Linked DNA regions of Homo sapiens: all the other regions are linked to region 1. Evidence: promoter capture Hi-C in 16 types of primary human blood cells and fetal thymus (Javierre and others, 2016). All regions are on one chromosome and are shown on one strand. The core of a region is centred on a gene start or on the middle of the fragment in contact, and the rest is flanking DNA. Distances in the headings are between cores, read along the strand shown.

The links. The method cuts DNA at HindIII sites, captures the fragments that hold promoters and counts their contacts. A CHiCAGO score of 5 or more calls a contact.
Region 2: a fragment that was not itself captured here is called in contact with the fragment with the promoter of BLOC1S5 in region 1 in 1 of 17 cell types (M2 macrophages); the score reaches 5.4 in M2 macrophages.
Region 3: a contact is called between a fragment that was not itself captured here and the fragment with the promoter of BLOC1S5 in region 1, in 1 of 17 cell types (M0 macrophages). The highest score is 6.1, in M0 macrophages.
Region 4: a contact is called between a fragment that was not itself captured here and the fragment with the promoter of BLOC1S5 in region 1, in 3 of 17 cell types (naive CD4 T cells, total CD4 T cells and naive CD8 T cells). The highest score is 8.4, in naive CD4 T cells.

Annotation. Positions count from the first base shown.
Region 1 is chr6:8,059,956-8,066,862 of GRCh38, reverse strand. It overlaps BLOC1S5 (biogenesis of lysosomal organelles complex 1 subunit 5), which reads left to right and starts at 2,474. Exons shown (of 5, transcript NM_201280.3): 1 at 2,474-2,598; 2 at 4,247-4,329. The coding sequence starts at 2,487. BLOC1S5-TXNDC5 (BLOC1S5-TXNDC5 readthrough (NMD candidate)) reads left to right here and starts at 2,449. Exons shown (of 13, transcript NR_037616.1): 1 at 2,449-2,598; 2 at 4,247-4,329. EEF1E1-BLOC1S5 (EEF1E1-BLOC1S5 readthrough (NMD candidate)) reads left to right here. Exons shown (of 7, transcript NR_037618.1): 4 at 4,247-4,329. RefSeq lists enhancers at 891-1,040, 1,051-1,150, 2,841-3,030, 2,640-3,266. The HindIII fragment of the contact is 8,031 bases long and covers 1,357-6,907 here.
Region 2 is chr6:10,508,155-10,515,061 of GRCh38, reverse strand. LOC101928146 (a long non-coding RNA gene) reads left to right here. Exons shown (of 3, transcript XR_001743961.2): 2 at 4,422-4,719; 3 at 5,759-6,402. It also overlaps the pseudogene LOC100422564. Among named protein-coding and RNA genes, the nearest start is that of GCNT2, 9.7 kb to the left of the region's middle. The HindIII fragment of the contact is 514 bases long and covers 3,833-4,346 here.
Region 3 is chr6:10,442,895-10,449,801 of GRCh38, reverse strand. All of the region lies in intron 1 of MIR5689HG (MIR5689 host gene), which reads right to left. Among named protein-coding and RNA genes, the nearest start is that of MIR5689, 6.6 kb to the right of the region's middle. The HindIII fragment of the contact is 2,000 bases long and covers 3,222-5,221 here.
Region 4 is chr6:10,404,323-10,411,229 of GRCh38, reverse strand. It overlaps TFAP2A (transcription factor AP-2 alpha), which reads left to right. Exons shown (of 7, transcript NM_001372066.1): 2 at 895-1,329; 3 at 4,386-4,437; 4 at 6,491-6,722. TFAP2A-AS2 (TFAP2A antisense RNA 2) reads right to left here and starts at 6,728. Exons shown (of 1, transcript NR_145448.1): 1 at 3,303-6,728. RefSeq lists enhancers at 6,447-6,556, 6,367-6,907, 6,780-6,907 and a silencer at 6,687-6,907. The HindIII fragment of the contact is 5,708 bases long and covers 2,804-6,907 here.

The DNA of each region.
Region 1 (6,907 bases), core at 1,225-3,724:
AATAACATTGGTGGATTGTATCAATGTCAATATCCTGGTTGTAACATTAGCATTTGCAAAATGTTACCACTGGGGGAAACTAGGCAAAGTGTAAAAGGAAACTCTATTATTTCTTACAACTGCATGAGAAGCTACAAATACCTCAATAAAAATTTCATTTAAAAATACAGGGAAAGTCTTGTCAATCCAGAGACAATAAGAGACAATACAAGACCTTCAGGGAAAGGATAAGAGTCCCATTTTAGCCTCAAAACTCTTGAGATTTCATGGGTCAAAGACCAAGGACACACTCATAGCAGCTGAATGTGCCAGGCGAAATGGCACTGCCAATGTTGCTTCTCAGTCTCCTAGCTGTCTGAGCCGCAGTGTAAAGATTTATATAAAAGCGGAGAGAGAACAGAGGCATATGCTGGACCTCACCATCCCAGAGAACAATACAACTTAATAGTGTATAATCAAATGGCTAGAACACATATTCACAGGCTACAAGCAACAGACTTGCAGAAAAGTAATTGTGTACTTATTCAGTGTTGGCTCCCCTGCAGGCTGCATGAGGAAAGGAAAAGGCTGCATTAGTCTTGTTCACCACTGTGTCTTAGCTCCTAGCACTATGCTGGGCACGTAGCAGCTGCTCAATAACGTATTTGTTAAATGTTTTTGAATGAAAAAATGAAAAGCCCATGTGGCCTGTTAAAGTTAATATGGCTTCTCTCTCCCTTCTCTCCAAATCTCCCTTCCCCACTCTCTCTTCACCCACCACCTATGCTTAAACACATACACAGAGACACAGAGGCAGTTGTTTCTGCCACATACAAGTCAGGCAGTCATTTAACCTCTCTGTGCCTCAGCCTCCTCGTCTGTAAATGAGGACATTAATAATAACTACTTCAAAGGCCGGCCATGAGGATTAAATGAATGCAAATTTGTAGACCACTTACAGTATTACCTGGCATGTAGCAAGTGCCATGTAAGTGTTTGTTAAACTGCAGTGCTATCCGAAGTTAGCACAGACTTCAGAGGTCAAAGCATGGTCCTCCTCAAGACTCCCCTTCAGACACCTGCCACAAGCTTTGGGGTTCCCAGGCCACCTGCACTTCTGACCAGCTGTCTCTGTCATATGCCCAGGGCCTGAGCACTGTCTGCTAGGGTGCCTCAGTTCTCACCCACGCAGCTTCTCTCTACACATGATGTTTCATTGCTATTCGCTTTACTCCCTCAGGTTTCACAGAATGACTCATAGAACTCAAGAAAGTGCTTTCCTTGCTATTACAGTTTTATTATAAAGGACACATATCAGGACCAGCCAAATGAAGAGATGTATAGGGCGAGATGTGGGAGATTTCCCAAATAGAAGCTTACGTGTCCTCAGGAACGCTTCCCCCTCCTGACACTTTGATGAATGATTATCGACCAGTAAGCTCACCTGAGCTTCCACATCCAGAGTACTCACTGGGGTTCCATTATGTAGGCATAGTTGGTTAAATCACTGGCCACATGGCTGAACTCAGTCTCCAGCCCCAATCTGCTCCCCAGAGGTGGGCCTGCTTATGTGACTCAAAGCCTAAGCCCTCATGGTTGGCCGGCCCTTCTGGTGTGGCCAGCCTCCATTCTGAAATCATCTTGGGCCCTCCATGAGCCATCTCATTAGCATAAACTCAGGTGTATTTCCAGAGGCCCACCATGAATAACAAAGACACTTCTATCACTTGGGAAATTCTAAGGATTGAGGGTACCTCCCAGGAACCAGAGTCAAAGTCCAGTCAAATTCTTTATTATACAACGTGAGTTTACTGACTTGAACAGAAAGAGGGAGCAAGAGAAGCATTCTAGGAAACAGGTGTCTAAAAAGAAAGGCAGGAATAGTCAGCCACACTCATGGCATAGTAGGGAAACAGCCCCCAGCTAATTGGCTTTGCTATACAGTAGTCCCCCCTTATCTGAGGTTTCACTTTCTGTGGTTTCATTACCCGCAGGACGGTACAATAAGATATTTTGGGAGAGAGACTACATTCACATAACTTTTATTAAATTGTTCTAATTGTTCATCTCTTACTGTGCCTAATTTATAAACTTTATCATATGTATATACAGGAAAAAACATAGTATATACATGGTTCAGTACTATATGCAGTTTCAGGAATCTACTGGGGGTCTTGGAATGTATTCTCAGCAGATATGGGAGGACAACTGTACTGGAATGCACCAGCTTTGAGCCAAATAACCAGGGCTCTGAGTTTAGCTCCAAAGTTCAAGCACCTTCCTATTCTAGCAGCATCCGCCCTGATCCAGCATGGCGGCAAGAGCTTCTGCCAGTTCACAGCCTGACTACACGGCAGGCGCCTTTCCGGAACCGCCCGCTGGGTAGATTAAATTTCTCCGGCGCCCTGTAATGACACACACACAAAAAAAACCCGGGCGCGCCTTGTAAGAGGGCGGCCGGGTTTGCGCAGGCGCAGCGTGGCCGCGGGTGGGCGGAACTGGTCGGGATGAGTGGCGGAGGGACAGAGACCCCTGTGGGTTGTGAGGCCGCCCCGGGCGGTGGCAGCAAGAAGAGGGACTCCCTGGGGACTGCGGGCTCAGCGCACCTCATTATCAAGGGTACGGAGTGTCAGGGCTATAGTTCCTGGTGGATCCCAGCACAGCCTCATCTCCCAGGCGGCGCCCTCTGACCCGGGCCGACCCCCGGGTCCCGGGCTGGCGCGCGTGCGTTTGTGCGGGTGGGGGAGTCGTGGTCGGTCCCCGCCTTTTTCCCCGCGCCAAATGCGTCCCACCACAACCAACCAGCCCAACTCTTCGTGTTTCCCCGCTTTCCTCTGTCGCAGCCTGAGCCATCAGGCCCGCCCCCGTCCATTCCGCAAGCTCAGGACCCCTGGGCGCAGAGCCTTTGGGCAGCCTCGCCACCGACGTGTAGTGGAAAGGGCATTGGACCTGGGAGGCGGGAGGCAGTCGCTTAGGAGTTGAGTGACTTCGGGTCACTGGCTTTACTCACTCTCCTACCCGATCTGTTCCTGGTCGTGCGAGGAGTAAGTGAGATACACTTACGAAGGCGCTCTATAGCACTGTAAAGAACCATTCACGTTCAGAAATGTCCATGTGTTCTGTGTGCTTTGAGCTGGGAGAAGGTTACAACCTAGATTCTCACAGAATCTGCTTTAGGTTTGACTCCTAAAGCTCACAACGCTGTTTGCTGCGTGAAAGTCTTTGACAGTTGAGTTGTAGTGCTTTATATATACCAGATATAAAGTGCTTATATACAGTGCTTGTATTATTTTTTCTACTTGACATGCTTAAGAAGATATGTACTAATAAAATTCATTAAAATAGAGAATTGAAACCTGCCCATCGTATGTCTGCAAAAATGAAAAATTTGGGGAACATTGCCAGTGAATGAATATGAATAATACATTGTCTTAGATTTAATTTCTCAAGGAATTTTGAGACTTACATTTTAAACTACATAGTTGTAACTAAGAAGAATAATAAACTGACTCACCAAAAGACTTAAATTCAGACCTTTTCTTAATGACTTTTTCAGACTTATGAAAAAGAGACTTACAATGAACATTCACCACCCACCTTAATAAATAAATTACTAAAAGCCCCACTGTGTCTTGCTCTAATTGCACTAGTTCCCCTCCCTCGTCTCAAGGTAGCCACTATCCAGAATTTGGTGTTTATTATTCTTGTGCATTTCTTTATAGTTTTGTTGCTTCTGTCTATATCCCAAAAGGAAATATTTTGAATATTTTAAAGTTTTATGTAAATTGCTTTAATCCTTCTGAAACTTGCTTTTTTATTATATTTATTATAAAATACGTATTATTTTTTATATTTATGTTGATAAGTGTAACTCTGATGTATTTATTTTTACTTGGTGATTGATAGAATTCCATTGTATGAGTATGGTTAAGGTGTTTTGCGTTTTTTCTTTTGATATTACACCTATGCTGTAATAAATATGTATAAATGGCCTTACTCATTTGTGCAAGAGTTTTCCAGGGTACATACCTAGGCATGAAAATGCTAGGTATACATGTCTGCAACTTTATTGAATACTGAAAGATTGTTCTCAAAAGTAGTTGTATCAGTGTACACATCCACTGGCAGTGGATGAGATTTCTTCTTAGTCCATAGTCTAAACTGGATTTTAACCTTCATCTCTTAGTGGGGAAGGGAGAGAGTAAAACAAGCTAGAGATTATGCCATTTAGCATGGATTAACCCTGAATTTCATTTTATCTTTATAGATCTTGGAGAAATTCATTCAAGGCTTTTGGATCACAGACCAGTTATTCAAGGTGAAACTCGTTATTTTGTAAAAGAATTTGAAGTGAGTATTTAAACTTATTTTATAAAAGTACTTCCCTAATTGTTAGTGTGTTATTATACAGAAGAGAAATTCCCCAGTTTTAAAATCGGATTTTAGTTCATGTGTTCATAAAATATACAAAGTAAAAATGATGAAGACGTAAAAATTGTTGTTTTTAATGGGATAAGTTCCATACTAAACAGCAGGATACATAAGTTCTGGTGCCTGCTCTAGGGTATTTAATGTCTGTTGATCTGAGGTTTTTTTAATCTATAAAATGAGATATAGTGGGGGAAAAAAAGGGATTTTAGAGATTGATGGGTCTGAGTTTTTCAGACTCATTTTCTGTAATTTTTTCCTCAATTGAGACATCACCAATTATGCAAGCAGTCAAATTAAAACTTAAGGATTATCCTTGGCTATTTCCTTTCTTACAGGTTCCACATTCAGTGACCCCATCTTTTAGACGTTACCTAGATGTTTACCTCATAAATGTCGATTCTTTCTGACAGGTTTGCCTGCTTTATCAACGAAGTCAAATCCAGTTTTCACCCTGCTGCCAGAGGAATCTAACATTATTTCACTTTTTAAAACCTTTGATACTATTTCTGTCCACAGGATAAAGTCCAAGCATTGTTCTGTGACCTGGCTCCTGCTTTTCTAGCATAACCACCTGCTACTCTACCTTACATACTATGTTCCAGCGACAGTGATGCATGAACATGCCATCTTGTTTCCTATTACTGTAGTTTTGTACATGTATAATTGGTTTATTGTGCTTTAAGCAGTAACTTCTCAAACTGCTGTTGGGATGGTAAATGGTGTTGCACAAACAATTTTGTGATTCTGTGTAAGTTTCAGATTTTTGCAAATGATACTGACCAGTCAGGATGTGCAAACATGCCAAAAGGAGAGTACCTTTTAATAAACCCAGTTGAGGGCTTATTAAAGATAGAGGCCCAGAGCTGTTGCATTAGATAAGCATTTCTGGGTGCAAAAGATGCTGTGACTCATAAACTGCATCATACTTCCCAGGATCTGTGCATTTTAGAATATTGTCTGGGACCTAGGAATTAACTAGGTACATAGCCAAGTTAATTATACATGTTAAGTAACATGTGTAATTGGTTCAGTTAACATGTTAATTAGCGTGTGTAATTGGTTTAGTTAACATCTTAACGTGTATAATAGGTTCATTGTTCGTTAAGCAGTAAGTTCCCACAATCTGATTATACCACATCGTCATCATTTAAAAAAAATTTTTAAGTCTTTTTTATCTTTTTGATATTTTATTTATTTATTTGTCATCATTATTTATTATTCTTATTAGGAATAAGAATAATGTGGGAGACACAGAAAATTATCCAGAGACTATTCCTTTACCGTGCTGTGTAAAGATGGTTACCAATTCCTTAGTAAGAAGAAAGTGGAGGCCAGGCGAGGTGGCTCAATTTATCCCAGCACTTTGGGAGGCCGAGGTGGGCAGATCACTTGAGGTCAGGAGTTTGAGACCAGCCTGGCCAACATGGCAAAACTCCATCTCTACTTAAAAAAATACAAAAATTAGCCGGGCATGGTGGCATGTGCCTGTAGTCCCAGCTACTCGGGAAGCTGAGGCAGGAGAATCTCTTGAACCCAGGAGGTGGAGGTTGCAGTGAGCCGAGAACGCGCCATTGCACTCCAGCCCTGGCGATGGAGCAAGACTCTGTCTCAAAAAAATAAAAAAAGAAGAAAGTGGAAATTTCTATACAAACTTGCTATAAGATTTTTACAGTGTGTTGTATAAATATGTTTTTAAAATTGTATTGAGTTTTACATGTATAGAGTGTGGATTTAGTTCTTAAATGTGGGAGTTATATTTTCTTCTTTTTACTTCACTTCAGCAACCACATTATCAGCAAATCTACCTCTAAAACATATCTTAAATCTTTCTACTTATCTTTCTTGCCACTACCCCTATCCCAACCCAGCTCACCGTCAGCCCTCACCCGGCCACCTGCAGTAGGCCCCTACCTGGTCTCCTTAATTTCAGTCTTATCTCTGTGAAATAACCTTTCTCACACAGTAGCCAAATGGTCTGCAAATCCTGTTGTACCACACCCTTGCTTAGCCTCCTCCTACTTTGGCTTTTCTTTACATGGAAAGCGCACTCCAGCTCCTTGGCTCTACTTAAAAATCCTAGATGATCTCTGACCTCTACTTGTCTTTCAGACTTTATTGTACACAACTCTTCCCTCCTTGTGTTTCAGCCACAATTCTTCCTTTCTTTTTCTTTAACACATCACGATTGTTACAGCATCAGCAATTCCATCTTCCTAAGATGCTGCTACTTCTCATTTTTCGCATGGCTCATTATTTTTGGTTTAGATTGCAGGTTAAGTATCACCTCCAGCCCTTTAATCCAAAGCAGTAACCAGTACACTCTATCATGTCACCCTAATTTACTTCTCTATATGGCACTGTATTCATTTTCTAAGTCTATGTAATAAATTACCACAAATTTAACAGGTCAGAACAGCTTATAGTAACAGCTGGTTATATAAAGTCAAACAAAATGTGTTGAGCACTTATTTTATGTGAGGCATAATATCAGGAAGTA
Region 2 (6,907 bases), core at 2,840-5,339, 2.4 Mb before region 1:
CTAGAAACACAGATGGGTATACATAACTTCATCAAGACCATTTTCAATGTGTAACACACACGTGTGCGTGCACTCACAGAGTTTAGACTTTATGTAGATTGGAAATCAAGTTCCACATACCTGGAATCCTACTGAGTGTCACCCAGAAATGCTCATCAGGAGAGTCAGTATCTTTTGACCACTCAAGTAAATCAATGGCCCTTAGGTTTTGAAGAACAAAATTAGCAAATTCCCTTGTAAGGGCCACATAGGCAGAGCCAAAGTAAATTGTCAGATGGTGGGGAGGAGGCATTTTTCTCATGCAAGTCCACAGCATGAAGGAAAACAAGCTATCTCTGCTCCAAGTGCATGTATTTGGTCCTTCTGATAATATGAGGAGGAGGCGGCACCCCGGGGGTGATATTTTTCCTTTTCCGTAACCTCAGATACTGAACGTATTTCCCTGTTGGTTTTCAGGGGAATTCTTGCCCACAGGTGTTGATGACGTACTTCCAGGGAACCTCAGAGGCCACAAGGTCTTTCAGGCAGTGCAGGTCAGCCTGGAGCCTGGAGATCCCTGTGTAGAACAGAGACTCCCTCTCAGAAGCCACAGAGACGTTTGTGAAGCAGCTCAGTAGCTTTCTTACAGCGTCTTTGAAAGTGACTGGGGCCTTCTGATCCACATGAACACAGTAGATGTTTTGGGGAGTGTAGATGGCCCTCAAGAGTCTTTCAAATGTATCAGTCTTTGCGGATGACCATGACATAGGCCAAAGGGAACTCGGCTTCGTCTTTGGACACAGGTTCCATTATGCAGTGATTTCGGATCAAGTATCGCTGGCAGGTTATTATTTCTCAATGGCGTCACTGGTATATTTTCATCCAAGAACATTTTCTTGCCTGTCACAATCATGCCACACACTTCTGCAAGGACTGAAGAGTTTGAGATCTTCCCCCATGGAAGATATTTTTGCGGGACCTAATAGTTACTATACAGGAATAAAAGAGTTATGGACGTGGCCATAAGCCCTAGGACCAACCCAAATGCCTCTACCTTTATTTTTCCTATGGTCTTTTCTGGATTCATCATTCACCTGATTTTATGCCATTGCTGAAGTCAGTCTGCAGGTCCCTGCCCAGACTTGAGAAATGTGCTCTAGCAACTTATTTGCAGCAAGAAGTGCAATATGACCATTTACTTAAAAGAAGGAGGATCAACCACAAGTCGGTAGCTCTTCTATTTAAAAAATCAGGTGACTCTTTGAACATGAGCCAGTGGGGCCAGCTGACCACTTCACAAAAGCCAGGCACAGTTGGGCACCTCTGTCTAGGTCAACCACAAATTAAGACCCTAGCAAATCGGCCACAGCTGCCAGCTCAGGGTGTTTTTCCCATGTGGAGTACAGGTGGAATGTGTGTTCATTTGGCACCTCTTTTTCCCATGCAGAGCCACCATCACCATCACTGATGTCACCTTTGAATGCAAGGGACACTATATTTCTTCAACTTCAGGCAATCACAGTTGTCCTGAAGTAGGTCACCATTTACGTGGACAGCACCCAGAACTCCTCGATAGTGGGGTCTCTTTACTTAAAAATAAAGATCAAGAATTTATAGTATTTCAGGATTGAAAGGAATCTTGCAGATTATTCTCACCAATTGATTCAGTTACAAATAAAGAACACTGACAATGACCCATAACGACTATTCTATCACATTTTGTCTCCATTTTCTCACTGATGGCCTGAGAGGTAAGCATTGACATTATATCCACTTTGCACATGAAGAAATTACGCCCAAAGATATGCTAGCTTGCCTGATATCCAGTAATGAGTTAATGGCAGCCTGGGGTTTTCAAACCTAACTCTTCTTCTTCTTATCTTAGAGTTGGGGTCTGGGTCTGTGCCCAGGCTGGAGTGCAATCACTGCCACATCAACTTCCTGGACTCAACCCATCCTCCTGCCTCAGTCTCCTGAGTAGCTGGGACTACAGGTGCCAGCCACATTGCTTGCCTAATTAAACATAAGATTTTGTTTCTTTTTTTTTGAGACAGAGTTTCACTCTTGTTGCTCAGGCTGAAGTGCAATGGTGCGATCTCAGCTCACTGCAACCTCTGCTTCCCAGGTTCAAGCAATTCTCCTGCCTCAGCCTCCCAAGTAGCTGGGATTACATGCACCCACCACCACGCCCAGATAATTTTTGTATTTTTAGTAGAGAAGTGGTTTCACCATGTTGGCCAGGCTGGTCTTGAACTCCTGACCTCAGGTGATCCACCCGCCTAGGCCTCCCAAAGTGCTGGGATTACAGGAGTGAGCCACCTCACCCAGCCTTAAAAAAATTTTTTTTGGGGCCGGGCGAGGTGGCTCATGCCTGTAATCCCAGCACTTTGGGAGGCCGAGGCAGGCAGATCACCTGAGATTGGGAGTTCGATACCAGCCTGACCAACATGGAGAAACACCATCTCTACCAAAAATACAAAATTAGCTGGGCATGATGGCACATGCCTGTAATCCCAGCTACTAGGGAGGCTGAGGCAGGAGAATCGCTTGAACTCGGGAGGTGGAAGTTGCAGTGAGCCAAGATCACACCATTGCACTCCAGCCTGGGCAACAAGAGTGAAACTCCGTCTCAAAAAAAATAAAATAAAATAAAAAAATAAAAATCGTTTTTTTGTAGAGACGGGGTATCACTATGTTGCCCAGGCTGGTCTTGAACCCCTGGGCTCAAGGGACCCTCCTTCCTTGACCCCCCAAAGGGATTATAGGCATGAGCCACTGTGCCTAGCCTCAAGCTTATCTCTTCTCACTGCATAGGCCATCTACCTGGAATATTCTCTCCCCCTGCCTTGTCTTGAGTTCCTACTCATCTTTCAGGTCCCTATGTGACACTGCTTCCCTGGTGACCCTTCCTTGCTCTTCCAAGTCTGGGTTAGAAGCCCTTCACCTGCCCTAATAAAACCTTGTACTCCTACAATTGCTTGTTTGTTTGCTCTACCACTAGTCCATGGAGGACTATTTATTTTTAAAACAAAAAGTTAATATTTTATTTTTAAATGTATGATTTACAGGTGGTAATTATACGTATTTATGGGATGCAGCATGATGTTCCAATACATGTATACATTGTGTAATGATCAAATCATGGTAATTAGCATATCCATCACCTTAGACATTTATTGTTTGTTATCAGAACATTCAAAAACTGCTCTTCCAGGTATTTTGAAATATACAATGCATTATTATTAACTGTAATCCTCCTCCTATGCAGTAGAACTCCAGAGCTTATTCTTCCTCTCTATCTATAGCTTGGCACCTGTTGATCCATCTCTCATCACCCCCCTGCTCCTTTCCCTTCCCATTCTCTGGTAACCACTGTTCTATTCTCTACTTCTATGTGGATTCCACATGAGTGAGATCATGCAATATTTGTCTCTCTGTGCCTGGCTTATTTCACTCAACATAATGTCCCATGGAGAACTATTTCGGTCTGCTGGTCACTGCACTTTCAACACCTTGCTTATGGTAGGCACTCACCGAATTAAGTTTAGCCACCCTTCTTTCCTCTATACCAGAGATCAGCAAAACCACAGCTGGGGGGGTCCAGTCTGGCTCGCTGCATGTTTTTAGACAATCTCTCAGCTAGAATGGTTTTATATTTTAAAATGGTTGGGAGAAAATCCAAAGAAGAAAAATGTTTTGTGACACATGAAAATTATATGAAATTCAAATTTCGGTGTCCATAAATACAATTTTATTGGAACACAGCCGTCCTCATTTGTTTACACAGGGCCTATGGCTGCTTTCACGTTACAATGGCAGGGCTAAGTTGTTGCCACATCTGACCACCGAAGCTTAAAATGTTTTCCATCTGGCCTTTACCAGAGAAGGTTTGCTGACCCTCTCCTCTGTATCTACGGATGTCCCTTGTATACCACTGTGCTTGCACTACATCAAGACAGCGATTGTGGACTTGATACCATTTTACAACTTTTTGCTTTATTTTCAAGATTTCCTCGTGAATGCCAGAATGACACGATATTTGGTAGCAAAGCATGAGCTTCAAAGAGAGGTTTGCGTGGGTCTAGATCCTGGCTTTGCTAGTTCCTAGTTGTGTGACGTTGGGCAAATCACTTTTCCTATCTGTCTTAATTTCTTTGTCAGTAAAATAAAGATAATACCAGTAGGGCTGTTTTGTGAGTTGATGTGTTAATAAGTAGAATGCACTCTGAGCAGTATTCACGCATAGTGAACACTCTGAAATGCTAGCTATTCTCACTGCACACGATCGCTTCTAGGGGCTACCTGTACCGCCAGTGAACTGGAAACTCACCCCACTGCACTTTGCCTGACACCGAGTGGCCCAAGCTTTGGCGAGAGGCAGTGCTGCCACACAGTGGCTCTATATGGGGTGGCTTGGCACACTCTTCCTTTTTTTTTTTTAGGTGATTGCAAATCTATGGATGAGACCAAGGGAGAATTTTCACGCCATCATAGCATTTTATTCCTCACCTGACTGGGAGCAGCTCGAAGGGAAGGACATGTCTCCAAAGACATGAGGAGTATTCAACGTGGCATTCGAGGCGCAAGGAAAAACCTGCCTATCCCAAGATCTCAGCCCCATCAGCCAGCCAAGGGATCCACAATGACCCTTATGAAGTTTCATAAGGAAGCTAATTGCTTAAATGAGATTTGAGTCAAGAAGGATGACCTAGCAATAACCTCTATATATCTCATTATGCCGTAAGTAACCAATAGAGGTTCTAGAAAATGCCATCCAATAGAGGTTCTGGAAAAATGGGACAAGAGACAGGTTAGATTAGATGGAAGAAAAGGCCTTCCATCTAAGCAAGGCCTGGCATGTGGAATGCTAGTGGGGGCCCTCTGGACTGTGCTGGCAGGGCAGGTAAAGCAGCCAGGAGAGAATGTGAAAGTGGAAAGATGCCCCGGGGTGACGTGCCATCACTTAGATTTTATTTATTTATTTAGAGACGAAGTCTCCCTCTGTCACCCAGGCTGGAGTGCAGTGGCGCGATCTTGGCTCACTGCAACTTCTGCCTCCCAGGCTCAAGCGATTTTCTTGCCTCAGCCTCCCAAGTAGCTGGGACTACAGGTGTGTGCCACCATGCATAGCTAATTTTTGCACTTTTAGTAGAGACAGGGTTTCACCATGTTGGCCAGGCTGGTCTCGAACTTCTGACCTCAGGAGATCTGCCCAACTCAGCCTCCCAAAATGATGGGATTACAGGCGTGAGCCACTGCACCCAACCAGGTTATTTTCAGAATTAGAGATGAATCTTAAAAATCAAAATTTCCCCAGTGTCCCAGACACATTCAAAGCAAAATTACATAGAGGTTCGGCATCCCTAGTCTGAAAATCTGAGATCTGAAATGCTCCAAAATCCAAAACTTTTTGAGAGTTAATGTGGCACCATCAGTGGAAAATTCCACACCTGACTTCATGTGATGGGTCTCAGTCGAACAGCAGCCAAAACTTTGCTTCTTGGACACAATTATTTAAAATAGTGTATAAAATTATCTCCAGGCTATGTGCATAAGGTGTATATGAAATATAAATGAATTTCATGTTCAGACTTGGGTCCCATCCCCAAGACATCTCATTATGTATATGCAAATTTTCCAACCTAGAAAAAACTTGAAATTCAGAACACTTCTGGTCCCAAGCGTTTTGGATATGGGATACTCAACCTGTAGTTTCATTTTAATTATTTTGATGTAACTTAACTGAGCATCAAATTTTAAATTTTTTTTTTTTAATTAGAAAACTTAAATGGCTACATAAGAGGACAGTCCAGTGACAGACATGGAAAGAGGCTTAGAGGTCATCTCATTCATCACACCATTTTACAGAGGAAAGCAAAATGCCATCCAGAGAAGGAAAGTCACAAAGCCATCTAACCCCAGACCTGGGAGTAGCAGCTGATCACAGCGGGTCGGACACAAGAAGCTGCTTCCAAAAATCTTTCCTTCCATTTGTCCTACAGAGAAGACATCAGAAAACAAAATTTTATAAGCATGTCTCTAGCTCTAACTCACTATTCAACTAAAGGACAAATTAAATAGGGAATGAGATAACCTTAACTTCATGAGATTTGTTCTTATATGCAGTTTTCTACCCTGAGAAACCAATCTATGCTAAAGATAATATTTGTGCTTTTCAATGAGGCTGGTAAAATATTTGCACTTTGAAGCTCAGAGCGATAACATTTATTCATTCGGGTGAAACTTATCAGGATTAGGTAAATATAATCGAAGCAAAACAAAAATGATTTGGGAAACTTTGTGACCAAAACCAACAGGCGTATTCAGTACTCCTTTGAAGGTCACCTAATTCTAATAACATTTATATTTATAAATGTCCTCTAAGTCTTTTATCTTCTGCAAATAAATTATTTCTCACAATTACAGGTTAGTCCAATACATCAGCCTATTTTCAGAGTCCAGAGTTCTAACCATTACACGATGGAACCAGCCTATTTTCAAGCACATACTCAGTGTCTCCAGGATGAGGACACATTGTGGGGCTTTTCACAACTTCTCTCTCCCATCACCTGCCCCTCTCCTTCCATATTTAATATATTGTTGCATTTCTGTCAAATTAGCTGGAAGAGTAGTGTTTAATCAGGTGTACACACTGCCACAGTAACCTGGAAACTTCAAATTCTACCCCTAATCACTAATGTTGAAGACTTGCTAAAACAGGTTTTTTTGTTTGTTTGTTTTGCTTTTTGAGACGGAGTCTAGCTCTGTTGCCCAGGCTGGAGTGCTGTGGTGCAATTATCAGCTCACTGCAACCTCTGCCTCCTGGGTTCAAACAATTCTCCTGCCTCAGCCTCCCGAGTAGTTGGGATTACAGACATGTGCCACGATGCCCAGCTAATTGCTTGTATTTTTAGTAGAGATGGGGTTT
Region 3 (6,907 bases), core at 2,972-5,471, 2.4 Mb before region 1:
AATAGAAGCAAAAATAAAAATAATACAAATGTCCATAAATAGGAAGCTGGCTATAGAAATTATGGTGTGTCCATACTGCAGAGGACCATGCGGTTGGTTATAGATTGAAGTTGACCAGCAGAGACAAAGAAAGACCTCAGGAACATGTAGGTAAATGAAAAAGATAATATGTATATAATATGTAACAATATACTAATATATCCCACTTATGTTTTTTAAATGTTTGCATATATATAATATGTACATAAATTCATAGAAAAGAAACTAAAGGGAAGTGAAAGTATTGATGGTGAGTAACTTTGGTAAAAGAAGGTCCAGGCATGTGGCTCATGCCTATAATCCCAGCACTTTGGGAGGCCGAGGCAGGATAATTGCTTGAGGTCAGGAGTTCGAGACTAGCCTAGGTAACATAGTAAAACCCTGCCCCTACAAAAAATTAAAATATTAGCCAGGTGTGATGGTGCACATAGTCCTGTCATCCTAGCTACTTGGGAGGCTGAGGCAGGAGGATTGCTTGAGCCCAGGAATTTGAGGCTACAGTGAGCTATGATTGTGTCACTGCACTCCAGCCTAGGCAACCGAGTGAGACTCCATTTCTAAAAGAAATTAATTAATTAATAAAAATGAAGAGAATGCTCAGCAGACTTCTGAATTCTTTGAGTGTTCACAAGAAAAATAAATTCATGTATCACATGTCCTATAAAAGAAAAAGGGGTTGGGGTTGCTTTTGCATATAAAGCAAGCTAGTTTCAACCGAACTCTCTGTCCACTGGAGAAAAGTGCTTGCCACAGAAAACTGTTTTTCTGGTTCACTGAGGTATAATTGACAAATAACAAGTACATATATCCAAGGTGCACAATGTGATGTTTTGATATAAGTATACACTGTGAAAGGATTATTACAACCAATTTGTAGTAATTAACTTGATGAATTAACATATTCATCAAGTATATAGTACATTATTATTAACTGTAGTCACCATGCTGTGCTTTCCATCTCAGAAAACTTAGAGTATTACCCTAAAGTTAACTATGACCATTTAGAAGTTTGCTTTAAAACACTGCTTTTCAAATTTTACTGTGGAAACAAATCGCTTGGGGATCTTGTTAAAATTTGGATTCTGAATCAGTAGGTCTAGAGTGGGGCCTGAGATTCTGTCTTTCTGACAATCTCCCCAGGTGACACCAATGCTGCTGGTCCCTGAAGCACGCTTTTGGTGGCAAGGTTTCCAGAGAGCTGAGGCTCCTGTATTTCTTTACAATCCAGACATCAGTTTCCCCTCCTTGTCATCACAATTCAGTGCATTTACCATTATATGGGGCTTTATATCCCTAGAGAATCAGAACACATGTTGTGGAAAATTGGCTGAGTTGCATCAAAATGCATTGGTTTGGCCTCAGACGTGTTGCCTGTATCTGTAGCTGTATTTCAGTTCCAATAAATGCATGTGTGTGGGTCTCAGGTAAACATATTGGTTTAAATGAAAATTCACTGCTTGGGAAACAAAAATAGGATTGCAATGAAAACACATTGCATTAAGTATTTTACATAATTCCCACAAACAGATGCTAGGAAATAATGTTTTGGTTTCAGTGGCAGTTCATTGAATTCACTGGTATGCTATTTGTATCTCTGAATATGTATGAGTTTTGATGAAAATGCATTGTGGAAAGAAATCAGTCAAGCTCTTCCTATACAGTCCAGCTATAATGTTCTTGTAAATTTTATGTTGCTATACCATCTTTTGTCTTGTTTATGAATACATATTCTTTTTAATGTTCCATATTGCTTAGTGTTGCAGTAAATATAACCATTTTGTTTGTGTCTTGAGTTTCTCATGTAGTGGATACATACACTGAACATTAAAGAATATAAATGTGACTAAAATCTGTTATATTAACTAGAAGATGCCTTTATTTTTTATCTCAAAATATTATTATTTCTGCATTGACTTTTATATAGAAAGAGACATTCTAAAAATTATTGGACTAAATCTAGAATCAATTTTGAAATCATAATACCATACACTAAACAGATGGAAATATCGGCAATATTTGATCAAATACTTGGTGTAATTACAGTAAAGCAATTTACAGAACTGATGAGAACAGAATTACAATTTGTATCAAATTAATGCCCTGAAACAAAACTACATTAATTGTTATATCATGTTAGTGATCTCTGTTGCTACCCAAAGACTAAATGGTCGGGGGAGGAAAAGGGGCAAGAAATTTAATTTCATTTAAATTGTGACAGTGTTCCTATACAGTATTTTATTCACTTGAATGGGTCAAAAGAATACCGCATGCTCAGCCAATTATCTGCTATGCAAAATTATTCTTAATTCTATGTGAGAATTGTAGACAGTGGGTTGAGGAGGTGGAAGTAAAAGCTGCATAGATGCAAATAGTTAAAGGTCGTTATCTACGTACCAAATCTAACTCGAGAAGAAAATCTTAAGATACTGTTTTATAGCTGAATGTGCTTCACCCACAGAGGAGCTCAGCGTTATCCCTGGGCCTTGGAAATAAGGGTGCAATGGACTGAATGCTTATCTCCCCTCCAAATTCATACACTGGTATTCTAATCCCCAAGGTGATGGTATTAGCAGATGGGGCCTTTGGGAGGTGACTAGGACATGAGGGTGGAGCACTTGTGAGTGGGATTAGTGCCCTTACAGAGAGACTGCAGAGAGCTCCCTTGCCCCTTCCACCATGTGAGGACACAGGGAGAAGATGGCTGTCTGTGAACTGGGAAACAGGCCCTCATCAGACACTGAGTCAGCTGAGGTATTGATCTTGGACTTCCCAGCCTTCAGAACTGTGAGAAATAAATTTCTGTTTAAAAGACACCCAGTTTCAGGTATTTTTGCCATAGTAGCCCAAACAGACTAACAGTGGATATAATTTTGTTGAGCCAGTTATAAAATCCAAGTCCAAGTCAAAACTGCAGGCTGATATTAGCTGGGCATGGTGGTGCATGCCTGTAGTTCCAGCTACTCCAGAGGCGGAGGTGGGAGGATGGCTTGGGCCCCAGAGGTCAAGGCTGCTGTGAGTGGTGATCACACCAATGCACACCAGCCTGGGGGACAGAGCAAGACCCTGTCTGAAAAACACAAAAATACAAAAAACTTGCAGGCTCCAAAACTACCTGAACTTCAACCTACCTTCTTTCAATACAATGCCCAGAACATAGTCTCTCTCAATGACCCAGTCAAGCTTAAAAAAAAAAAAAAGAAAAAAAAAGCATCACCACTTCTCTCTTCAAAATCTAGCCTTGATATATATTTTGAGGGGATGCATTCTGAAGTGTGTCAGCATGATACATCGTATCATCTGCAACTTACTTTCAAATGGCTTAGGAAAAAAATATGGTATCTGCTGTCTATTTATCTACCTACCTATCTATCAAGAGATAAGCAAACATGATGAAATAATAACAGTTGTTAAATCCATGTGAGGGGTATTTGGCTGTTTGTGTGCTATTTTTCAGCTTTTCTGATTGAGCTTACTTTTTTAAAAAGGCAGGAAAAAGTATGTGGCCTTGACTGTGAAGACAGACAAGAAACAGCTGAGCCCCTCTTGTTTCTCGATACATCAAAAATGCGGGACACATGGTCAGTGCTAATACATAGTCCTTAAACTTAAGAAGTTCCTAAAAATTAACTTTGCTTGTGGAGTGTCAAACCGGAAATCAGTTAAAACAAAGAAAAATTTGAGATTTTTCTGGGGAAAAAAATTTCATCTTGATTTTCTGAGTTACCCCAGCCCACTGTCCCTGAATACGCCTCTTGTCCTGGTAAAGGGTGTCACCCTTGTCCCCCAGGATCTCTGTTTTTCTTTTGAGACAGAGTTTCACTCTTGTCTCCCGGCTAGAGAGCAATGGCACGATCTTGGCTCACTGAAACCTCTGCCTCCCAGGTTCAAGCGATTCTCCTGCCTCAGCCTCCCAAGTAGCTGGGATTACAGGCATGCACCACCATGCCTGGCTAACTTTTTGTATTTTTAGTAGAGATGGGGTTTCACCATATTGAGCAGGCTGGTCTTGAACTCCTGACCTCATGATCCACCCATCTTGGCCTCCCAAAGTGCTGGGATTACAGGTGTGAGCCACTGCGCCCGGCCCAGGATCTCTTATACAGTAGAATTCTACTCTGTTATTAAAGAGGTAAGCATAAGCTATTCCAAAACCAAGAAAGAACACAACCCTAAGTGCCCAGAATGGTGAACAATTAAAGAGCTTTAACTGCTTGCCAGAGTCTTTATGTTACTTACATAGAAACCTATAAAAGAGGCCGGGTGTGGTGGCTCATGCCTGTAATCCCAGCACTTTGGGAGGCCGAGGTGGGTGGATCACGAGGTCAGGAGTTCGAGACCAGCCTGGTCAATATGGTGAAACCCCATCTCTACTAAAAATACAAAAGTTAGCCAGGCATGGTGGCGCACACTTGTAGTCCCAGCTACTCAGGTGGCTGAGTCACGAGAATCTCTTGAACCTGGGAAGTGGAGGTTGCAGTGAGCCAAGTTCATGCTACTGCACTCCAGCCTGGGCAATGGAGTGAGATTGTCAAAAAAAAGAACAGGCCAAGGAAAATAAATGGAGACAGGGTCTGCATGTACTACAGGTGAAAGAAATTTTCAGAAACTACAAAAAAGATTAGCTGGGCCCGTAGTCCCAGTTACTCGGGACGCTGAGGCAGAAGAATCACTTGAACCCGAGAGGCGGAGGTGGCAGTGAACCGAGATGGCGCCACTGCACTCCAGCCTGGGCGACAGGGCGAGACTCCGTCTCAAAAACAAAAACAGAAACAAAAACCTATAAAAGAGAATAGCCCTGTAAGTTTTTGAGAAGTAATGCATTTTGGGGAAGAGTCATGCTCGTTTCCTCCAACCTCTGAGAAAAACACAATTGTTCTAGATACTTCTCCAGTGTTAATTCAAAGATGGCAGTGGTAATACAAAAGTGGCTGAGTCACGTGTCAAGTCAAAAAGCTAGTCTTAGATATGACTTTAAATTTCTCTTTTTCATCCCTTTGGTCCTTTAGAAACATTCACTGGAATGAGTATTAAAGTCTGATAATTTCAGACACTTGTTTATTCTTTGGCCTAAGTATATACCCTCACGGAGTTTTCTGTAATATTCATGTCAGAATCATTCCTTTATAGTTTCTGCAGTCATTGGTTGAGGAATGTCTTATTCATTTCATTCATTCAAAAAGCTTTTATTGAAGCTCTATGATATGCCAGTGTTTGGGAAACGAATGCAATATAAGAGCCTTCCATTACTGACAGATTTTTCTCCTTGCAACTTCTCTGCCTTCCCACTGCCCCAACTTCATGGGAATACCTCCTACAGAAATATGTAAGTTATAGCAGAAGCTCTTTGTTAGAACTCCTAATTCTAATTCGAGATCAATTTTTTTCAACATTTTATTATAAAACCTTTTAAGCATAGCTCAGAATTGAAGAAACTGTACGGTGAACACTCATATGCTCACCAGCTAGATTCAACAATAAACATTCTTCTGTACTTCATTTACTATTTATCCATTTATCCAGCTGTTTATCCACCCACCAATCTATCTTGTCTTTTTTTTTTTTTTTTCTGAGATGGAGTCTCACTCTGTTGCCCAGGCTGGAGTGCAGTGGCATGATCTCGGCTCACTGCAACCTCTGCCTCCCGGGCTCAAGTGACTCTCCTGCCTCAGCCTTTTGAGTAGCTGGGATTACAGGTGTGCACCACCATGCCCGGCTAATTTTTGTATTTTTAGTAGAGACGGGGTCTCATCATGTTGGCCAGCCTGGTATTGAACTTCTGACCTCAGGTGATCCACCCGCCTTGGCCTCCCAAAGCATCTTGTCTTTTTAATGCATTTCTAAGTATGTTGCAGTCAGCAATACACTTCTCCCCATATGTTCCAACATGCATATCTTTTATTAGAGTTCAATGTTGGTTGATTTCTTCTTCTTTTGAGGTAAAATTTAAATACAAAAAATGCACAGTTTATAAGTGTGCCATTCAGCAAGTTGCAAGGAAGGCCATGTATACAAGCAAGGCAAACCCCTGGTGAGATCCAGTACCTTAAGACTGCCCTGAAAGCTCCCCTGCACAGCTGGTCCCCAACCCCATGGCCCAACTCCCAAAGGTAACCCTTTCTCTGGATTCCCCTGCCCCCACCTTAGATTAGTCCATAGATTAGTTTTGCTTGTTCTAGGATGATAAATATATAAACAGTATGTGCTTTCTTGTGTAAGGCTTCTTCCATTCAGTACAACATTTTTGGAATTCATCATGATGTTGTATGTATCAATGGTTCCTCCCCCCACCCCCCCTTTTTTTTTGAGACAGAGTCACCCAGGCTGGAGTGCAGTGGCACAATCTCAGCTCACTGCAACCTCTGCCTCCTGGATTCAAGCTGATTCTCCTGCCTCAGCCTTTCGAGTAGCTGGGATTGGAGGTGCGTGCCACCACACCTGACTATTTTTGTATTTTTAGTAGAGATGGGGTTTCACCATGTTGGCCAGGCTGGTCTCGAACTCTTGACCCCAGGTGATCCACCCACCTCGGCCTCCCAATGTGCTGGGATTACAGGTGTGAGCCACCGCGCCCAGCCGGTTCCTCCCTTTTTTATTGTGTAGTATTTCATTGTCTGAATTTACCACAGTTAGTTTATTCATTCTCCTATTGGTTGTTTTCAGCTTTCAGTTATTTATGAATAAAGCTATGGACATTTTTGAACAAGCCTCTTTGAGGACATATGCTTTTATTTCTCCCGGGTGAGTAACCTAGGTGTGGAATTGCCAGGTCATAATGTAGGTGCAGTCAGCCTTCCCTATCCGTGGGTTCCACATTCATGGACTCAGCAAATATTCATGAATTCAATAAAAAATCAAGGGGTGGGAGGAA
Region 4 (6,907 bases), core at 4,408-6,907, 2.3 Mb before region 1:
GCAGGAAAAGTGCAGCGCGGTGTGCCCCCTACCCTCGGGACCTGCGGCCGAACCGCCGAGGGTTCGCGGTCTCTGGAATCAACTCTCTTCGCTTGTTTTGCAAGGGAATTGCAATAGAGAAACCTAAAGTCAGGCGTTTCTTCTGCCCTTTGGGGCTGGGGTGGAAGGGGCGGGGGGGGGGGGCCACAGCCCCGGGGTGCACCTCTCTCTTTTAAACCCAATAAGGCTGAATCTTTCTATTTTAAACCTTGACTTGACGTCCCCCTTTCCCTATCCAAACCATAAATCGACTCTGTCGAGAAAAAGGCTCCTAACAGAGGAAGCGAAAAAGACAGACCCCGATCCTGCAGTTAAAACCTTCTTTAAGCTGGTAATTTAAACGTGTGTTTTTGTTACAGCCCCTCTGCGAAATATGTTTCTATTTAAGTAGTCATGAAACGGTAACAGTCTTTGAACGTTTATGATTTTTTTCTCTCCAAATAAATGGAAGAGAATAAACAATAACGCAGTGGCAGACAGGTTCAAATCGGGGGAAAAGAAAAGGCCGCTTCTGCTGTTTAGTATTTAGGAGGAATTTTAATTTTGCTTAAGAGAGATTTCACGCTGCAGTTTAATGGGCTGTGTTCCAGGAGACCCTTTTCTATCTTTTCCTCTCTTTGAAAGAAACCCCTAAATAGTCTCTTGTGCCCCCTCCATATACAGTTTCTCTGCGTTGTTCGGTCTGTTTCACTTGAGGGTATTTCCTGAAAAGAACTTAGAGCTGATTTTTTCCCGGCGGCCAGCCAACGGGAACGGGCGATTTCCCACGCAGACTTGTCAAGTGGATTTTGTGTGGATAGTTGTAGCTCGACGCCTGATTCCTTGTTCTTTACCTTTCCTCTCGCTCTCTTCTAGGACCGTCACGACGGCACCAGCAACGGGACGGCACGGTTGCCCCAGCTGGGCACTGTAGGTCAATCTCCCTACACGAGCGCCCCGCCGCTGTCCCACACCCCCAATGCCGACTTCCAGCCCCCATACTTCCCCCCACCCTACCAGCCTATCTACCCCCAGTCGCAAGATCCTTACTCCCACGTCAACGACCCCTACAGCCTGAACCCCCTGCACGCCCAGCCGCAGCCGCAGCACCCAGGCTGGCCCGGCCAGAGGCAGAGCCAGGAGTCTGGGCTCCTGCACACGCACCGGGGGCTGCCTCACCAGCTGTCGGGCCTGGATCCTCGCAGGGACTACAGGCGGCACGAGGACCTCCTGCACGGCCCACACGCGCTCAGCTCAGGACTCGGAGACCTCTCGATCCACTCCTTACCTCACGCCATCGAGGAGGTCCCGGTAAGAGGCCGCGCAACCAGCGCGGGAGGGAACACAGCCCCCTACTTACCTACCCCAGAAAGGATACCTGGAACATACAGTCGGTGGGCCCGGGTTCTCCCTAGTATTTCCTTATAAAAACATTTTATTCGGAGGCGGAGAGTGAGGGACGTTTTGAGGAACCACACAAAGTAGTTGCGAGTTCTACCCCAGAACAATGGTTTCTGGAGCTCCCTCAAACAATGCCTGCATTACCATTTCCACCAACACAGATAAATCAGACGAATGTCACCATTAACAATATCTTCCTCTCGACGACAGTAAACTGTCTCAATTGCTAAAAGATCTACTTCCATCGCTGAGTCTGGCGTGGAGATTTCTCCCTGTCCTGGGAATGATGTTAAATGCAACCAAAAGAGCTCATTAAATGTCCTCAAAATGTAAAAGGAAGTGTAAAAGACACACTAAGATCATTTTAACCGGATTTTATAAGCACAAGTGAAACCTAAAAGTTATGTGTACACCCTATCCTGATTAAAGAAAAACTAAGTAGCAAATCCAAGCAGAGGGACATTAAAATGCAGCCTTCTTCTTACTAGGGGTGCTAAGTGGTGACCTCATAAATCATTAGCTAGGTTCCCAACGCCTATCAGAACCTGCTACACTCCATATTAAATTAAATGTTTCGAGACTATTGGGTAATACATTATTTGAGTTCTAATTTAGTTATCAATAAATGCAGTTTAAAATGATTTCTAAATAAGCATGGCATTAGCACATTTACTATTTACAATGCAAACCAGGCTATTGATAATTTGAAAATACTTTCTGGAATTAAACTTAAACCAGTACCTCTGCTTCAATTCTATATATTTATGGTTTCCTCACAACCCTCCTGAAATGGAATTAGAGCAAGCCAATAATTTTATTAAAGCTGTAAAGGCTTCTGTTAAAGCTGCTTTTCTTTGGAGAGGAAATGTATCTGGATGTGATTTTTACTAAAATGCTATTTCAAATTACTGCATCAAATATTGCAGCAGTATGTCCGTTGACAGTTTAATGATTACTACATTAGATTGTAAGGAAAATGGTCAGATGAACTTACCTCCTTGCTTGGTGAATTTAAAACATTATTTAAGTTCCGTAGGAAAATAGAAAATTTATTACATCTCTCATTTGGCCCAGTTAGTCACTGAAATTTGTTGGTTATGTTTAGCAGCCCTTGCATGGAAGGCAGGAAAGTGGGCACTTGATCCAGTATAAGGTTTAGTGAGCACTGTATGTCTGTATATGTGTGTTCATACTTACATGTTTTTAGAAACTGATACTTAACAGTGCATTTTTTTGGAAGTGAGAGGAGCACTAATTTATATAAGAGCAATTTAAACATGAACTGGGAGTTATGATTATTTTAGTTCCCTTTCCCAAAGCACTCTGAATCTTTTCCTTGCTTGTTCTTTGAAAATATTTGAATTGCAAAATAATGTTGCAAGCTTTTGGAACTACTGTGAATGAGAATTGCTCTACTTTGCAAAAATTTCAAGGTGAATTCTTAACACCTGTATACTCACTCTTTGTGGCAAAATTGGTCAGTAGGAGAAACTAACTAAAAGATTAAACAAAAACAAGGAAACCCAGTTGCTGTTTTTCCCTCTCCCTCCCCCATCTTTTAAGAAAAAAATTCTTTCAAAGGAATTTGGGTCAAGAAAAAGGTTGTTTTCAATTTTTTCCCATTGCTGCAACAGTTAACCTTTAGTAAGTATAACTGCTAAATATTTAAGAAAATCAAATCGATGGTGAAAATTATTTAATCATTAATATCTCAGTGGGGTTTTAAACTTAACAGTCTTCCCTGTATGGACAAGGTCTAGAAATAACACAAATAAAAGTATTATGCCACACTACATTTACTTTATGGGTTTAGGGTGCATGCATAAAGGGATCATATTTCCCCATATAGTTAAAACACAAGAACTGCAGCAGTAGTCATTTCTGAACATTTCTCAATTTAATTATACTTAAATCCAGAAGCACTTTAGGCAAGTTACAAATGAGAGCATTGAGTATAATAAAACCTGTAATAAAGCAACTTAGTACCATCCACCCGGAATCATTGCGATCAGGCACAATTAACAGGAGCATAAATCCAAGACAGAATGGAAAATGTTCGAATCAGTATTATTGTTGGACAAAGACTAGAGAAGGAAGCAATAGTTTTTTAAATGGTAATGCCTGTGTTTGGTAATGATTGCAAAATCTTCTATCTCAGCAGCCCTGGTGCTAATTTGTAAACACAGCCAGACATTATATTGCCTGTCAGTTTCTGCATTAGAAAACATGACTTCATTTTACTTTCTAATCACGTTTTGACTCTAGTGCGCACACGTATACCCATCCATCTGTAAAAAAAAAAAAAAAAAAGAAAAGAAAAAGAAAAACACCCCACACTAACAACAAACCTGCTGTTGGACAACAGGAAAGCAAGCTCAAAGGTTTTTTGGTTTTGGTCATTTTCATATTCCTATCATACCCAGGCTTAGGCAGTAGTCTTTCTAAAAATTTATGTGGAGTTTTCCATAAAGGTGTGTGTGTTTGCTCTTTATTATACTACCTAAACCTTTTCTTTTCCAACACTCTCCTGTTACTCCCGCCCCTGTCATTTCTATTGTGTTTCCCTGGCTTTCGCTGCCTGAACACTGGAATTGCTAAAGTCAGAAGCCGCTGAGGCGCCAATCTAAAGCTAGGTACATTTCTAAATGTTGAACTGACTGAGAATGATTAGGTGCTCCAACACTTGATTTAATTTCCAAAGAAAGTTTTATTCCCCATCTCCACCCCTTTTAAACATGGATTATTTGCTGGAGGAGGAGAAATTGGCCATGGGTGTGCAGTGAAACCTCTTGAGTTGCAAAGCCCCAAATTCCAATAAGCCAAGATGAGATGTTTATATATAAATGTCATTATACGGGAGGGGGAATTTTGATTCTACACCTTCCCCTCCTCCCATCTTGCAGGGAATATTCATTTCCTTTTGTTTTGATGATACACTTACATCCATGTGTATCCTTTTGTTGCAGCATGTAGAAGACCCGGGTATTAACATCCCAGATCAAACTGTAATTAAGAAAGGTAAGCCATTTCCTTCTGCATTCCAAGCATGTCCTTACAGGCAGAGTGCTATTTAAAAGAACTTGCAGAGATGTGTTTATTTTTTCCAAATAGGATTTCCTAAAGGCTCAGAATTAGCAAATAGATAGGCACAGAACAGCAATGCTTAAATAATCAGCCTTCAGTATGTTGGTAATGCCAACAGGCTAGCTTTGTTCTGACTCATGATTTGACCATTTAATTTAGTTTAATGATATTTGGACAAACACACAAAATGTACAGTAGTTGAACTGATTTGGAAGTGGCATTTCAATTTTGAAACAGTTTGATAGTTTAATCCATTGCCTGGATGAAGGTTAAGAAGTGTATAATGCTAAAATAGTACAAATAATTTAACATTAATGTAAGAACAGATGATAAGAAGCACTCTTTAGTAGAGGAAAAAAACATTCATGTTCTTCAATTTAGTTTCTTGTTAGCTGTTTAAGGGTCTTAGAACTTTGTGAATTAGGTTAACAAAATTTTAGCTTTTGGTTAAAATTAGTATCTTGAAGATGGGAGGAATATTAGCATACTTGTTCAGAGGAGAAATTGTTAGAAAAGTGTCAAGTGATTTGCATGGATTTGTAATCTGTATTGTGTTTAGTGAGTAGAAATAAAGTTTACTGAATTAAATGCTATTCACTCTTGGTAGCAGCTTTTTTTTTGGTTATGGTGGCAATGTTACATTTCAGGATTCTAGGCACCACCAGAGGACGATGCTATATAAAACTGTTCTCATTTCTAACCCCAATCAGTATATTGTTAGCTAGTTTAAAGTTTCATTTTTGCATCTGTGAAGTCTTTGTCACGTCAAATTAGATGTGCAAGGGATAAATCTTAAGAGATGCTCTTTCCAAGTCGACATGATAATTGGCTCTTTTATTAGTAATCTCTCAAGAGTTCGTTTAACTCCTATTGTCTCTATTAGCCTCCCCAGAGCTATTAATGTCACAAGTGATCTATCCAAAACCTAGAGCCCCCCACCTCCCTATACCTCTAGCATATCCCCATTAAAGAACGCATAAGGAACACTGTGATGAGATTGTGTGCATATGATGTCTCCAAATGGAATTTTAAAATACAATGCATACTGTACTTAAATGGTTGTGAATGCATCTGAATTACACTGGTGCTGAGAAACGTAATGCATTAGTATACTTTCTGCAGGTCTTCTATTTTTTTTTTTTCTAACAGTGGTGAGTCCAGCAATAAAGAGCTTATGGTTTTAACTAGGAAGTATATATACCCACTTTCCCAATAAAGGCGCTTTAGCAGAGGACTGTTAAGTATTTACTTAACAAAAGGGCACATTGCTAGTATTCCACTGTAGGCCTGTTCTTCCCTCCCCACTCCGCAGTTCAAAACTGGCCTTGGAATGGATCTCCAAAACTGAGACGTTTTCAAAATTGAACATAGGAAAGGGCCTATTTATCAAAAAGACGGGACGTGTGGTGTGGACAACAAAATCCACCACTTCCCAGCGTGGTGCCTCAATTAAAACGCTCGTTTACAGGGTGCTTTAGCCATCTAAATTGTCGGCTGATTTTAATAATGGGTCTTTGAAGCAGTTTTTCCCCGACACTAAAACCCCACCCAGCAAAACCCCTGAAGTACAAGTAACTTGCTCTCGGTTTGCAAATGTAATTCCCTCCCCTGCACCCTGAACCCGTGGTCCTGGACCTCATCTGGGGCCCACTCCGCTCGGATGCTCAGCGCCTCAGGGGTCACCAATTTCACCACCCATCTCTAGAGAGCACCCTTGACGGCGAAGGGGAAAGGGTCAAGGCAGAAACGCAGGCCAGGCTGGCTGGGGGAGGGCAGGGCCGCCTCCCGGCCGCCGGGTGAGGTAGGGAAGGGCTCGAGCCCGAGGAAGGGAAGTAGCAGAGCCACAGAATTTCAGAGCCGGACGGAAAAGCGGGGACTGTGGCCCAAAGCCTGGGATCCGGCCCTGGCCGGGATGAGGGCCGGGGTCGGGCAGGATTTGGGGGTGATCCACGACGCCCAACACGCGGCCTCCCCTCTGTCTCCGCAGGCCCCGTGTCCCTGTCCAAGTCCAACAGCAATGCCGTCTCCGCCATCCCTATTAACAAGGACAACCTCTTCGGCGGCGTGGTGAACCCCAACGAAGTCTTCTGTTCAGTTCCGGGTCGCCTCTCGCTCCTCAGCTCCACCTCGAAGTACAAGGTCACGGTGGCGGAAGTGCAGCGGCGGCTCTCACCACCCGAGTGTCTCAACGCGTCGCTGCTGGGCGGAGTGCTCCGGAGGTGAGGCCCGGCACGGCCCCGCCCGCCCCGCCCCGCGGCCGGGGGAACCACTGCGCTTGCGCCGGGGCGGTGGCGGCGACGCAAACAGGCCTCGCGCCGCGGCCCTCCCTACGCGGGAAAGGAAAGGGGGCGGGGAGAAGAGCGTAGAGCCAAGTGGGCGGGATCTGGGGGCGGGGGAGCGGGCG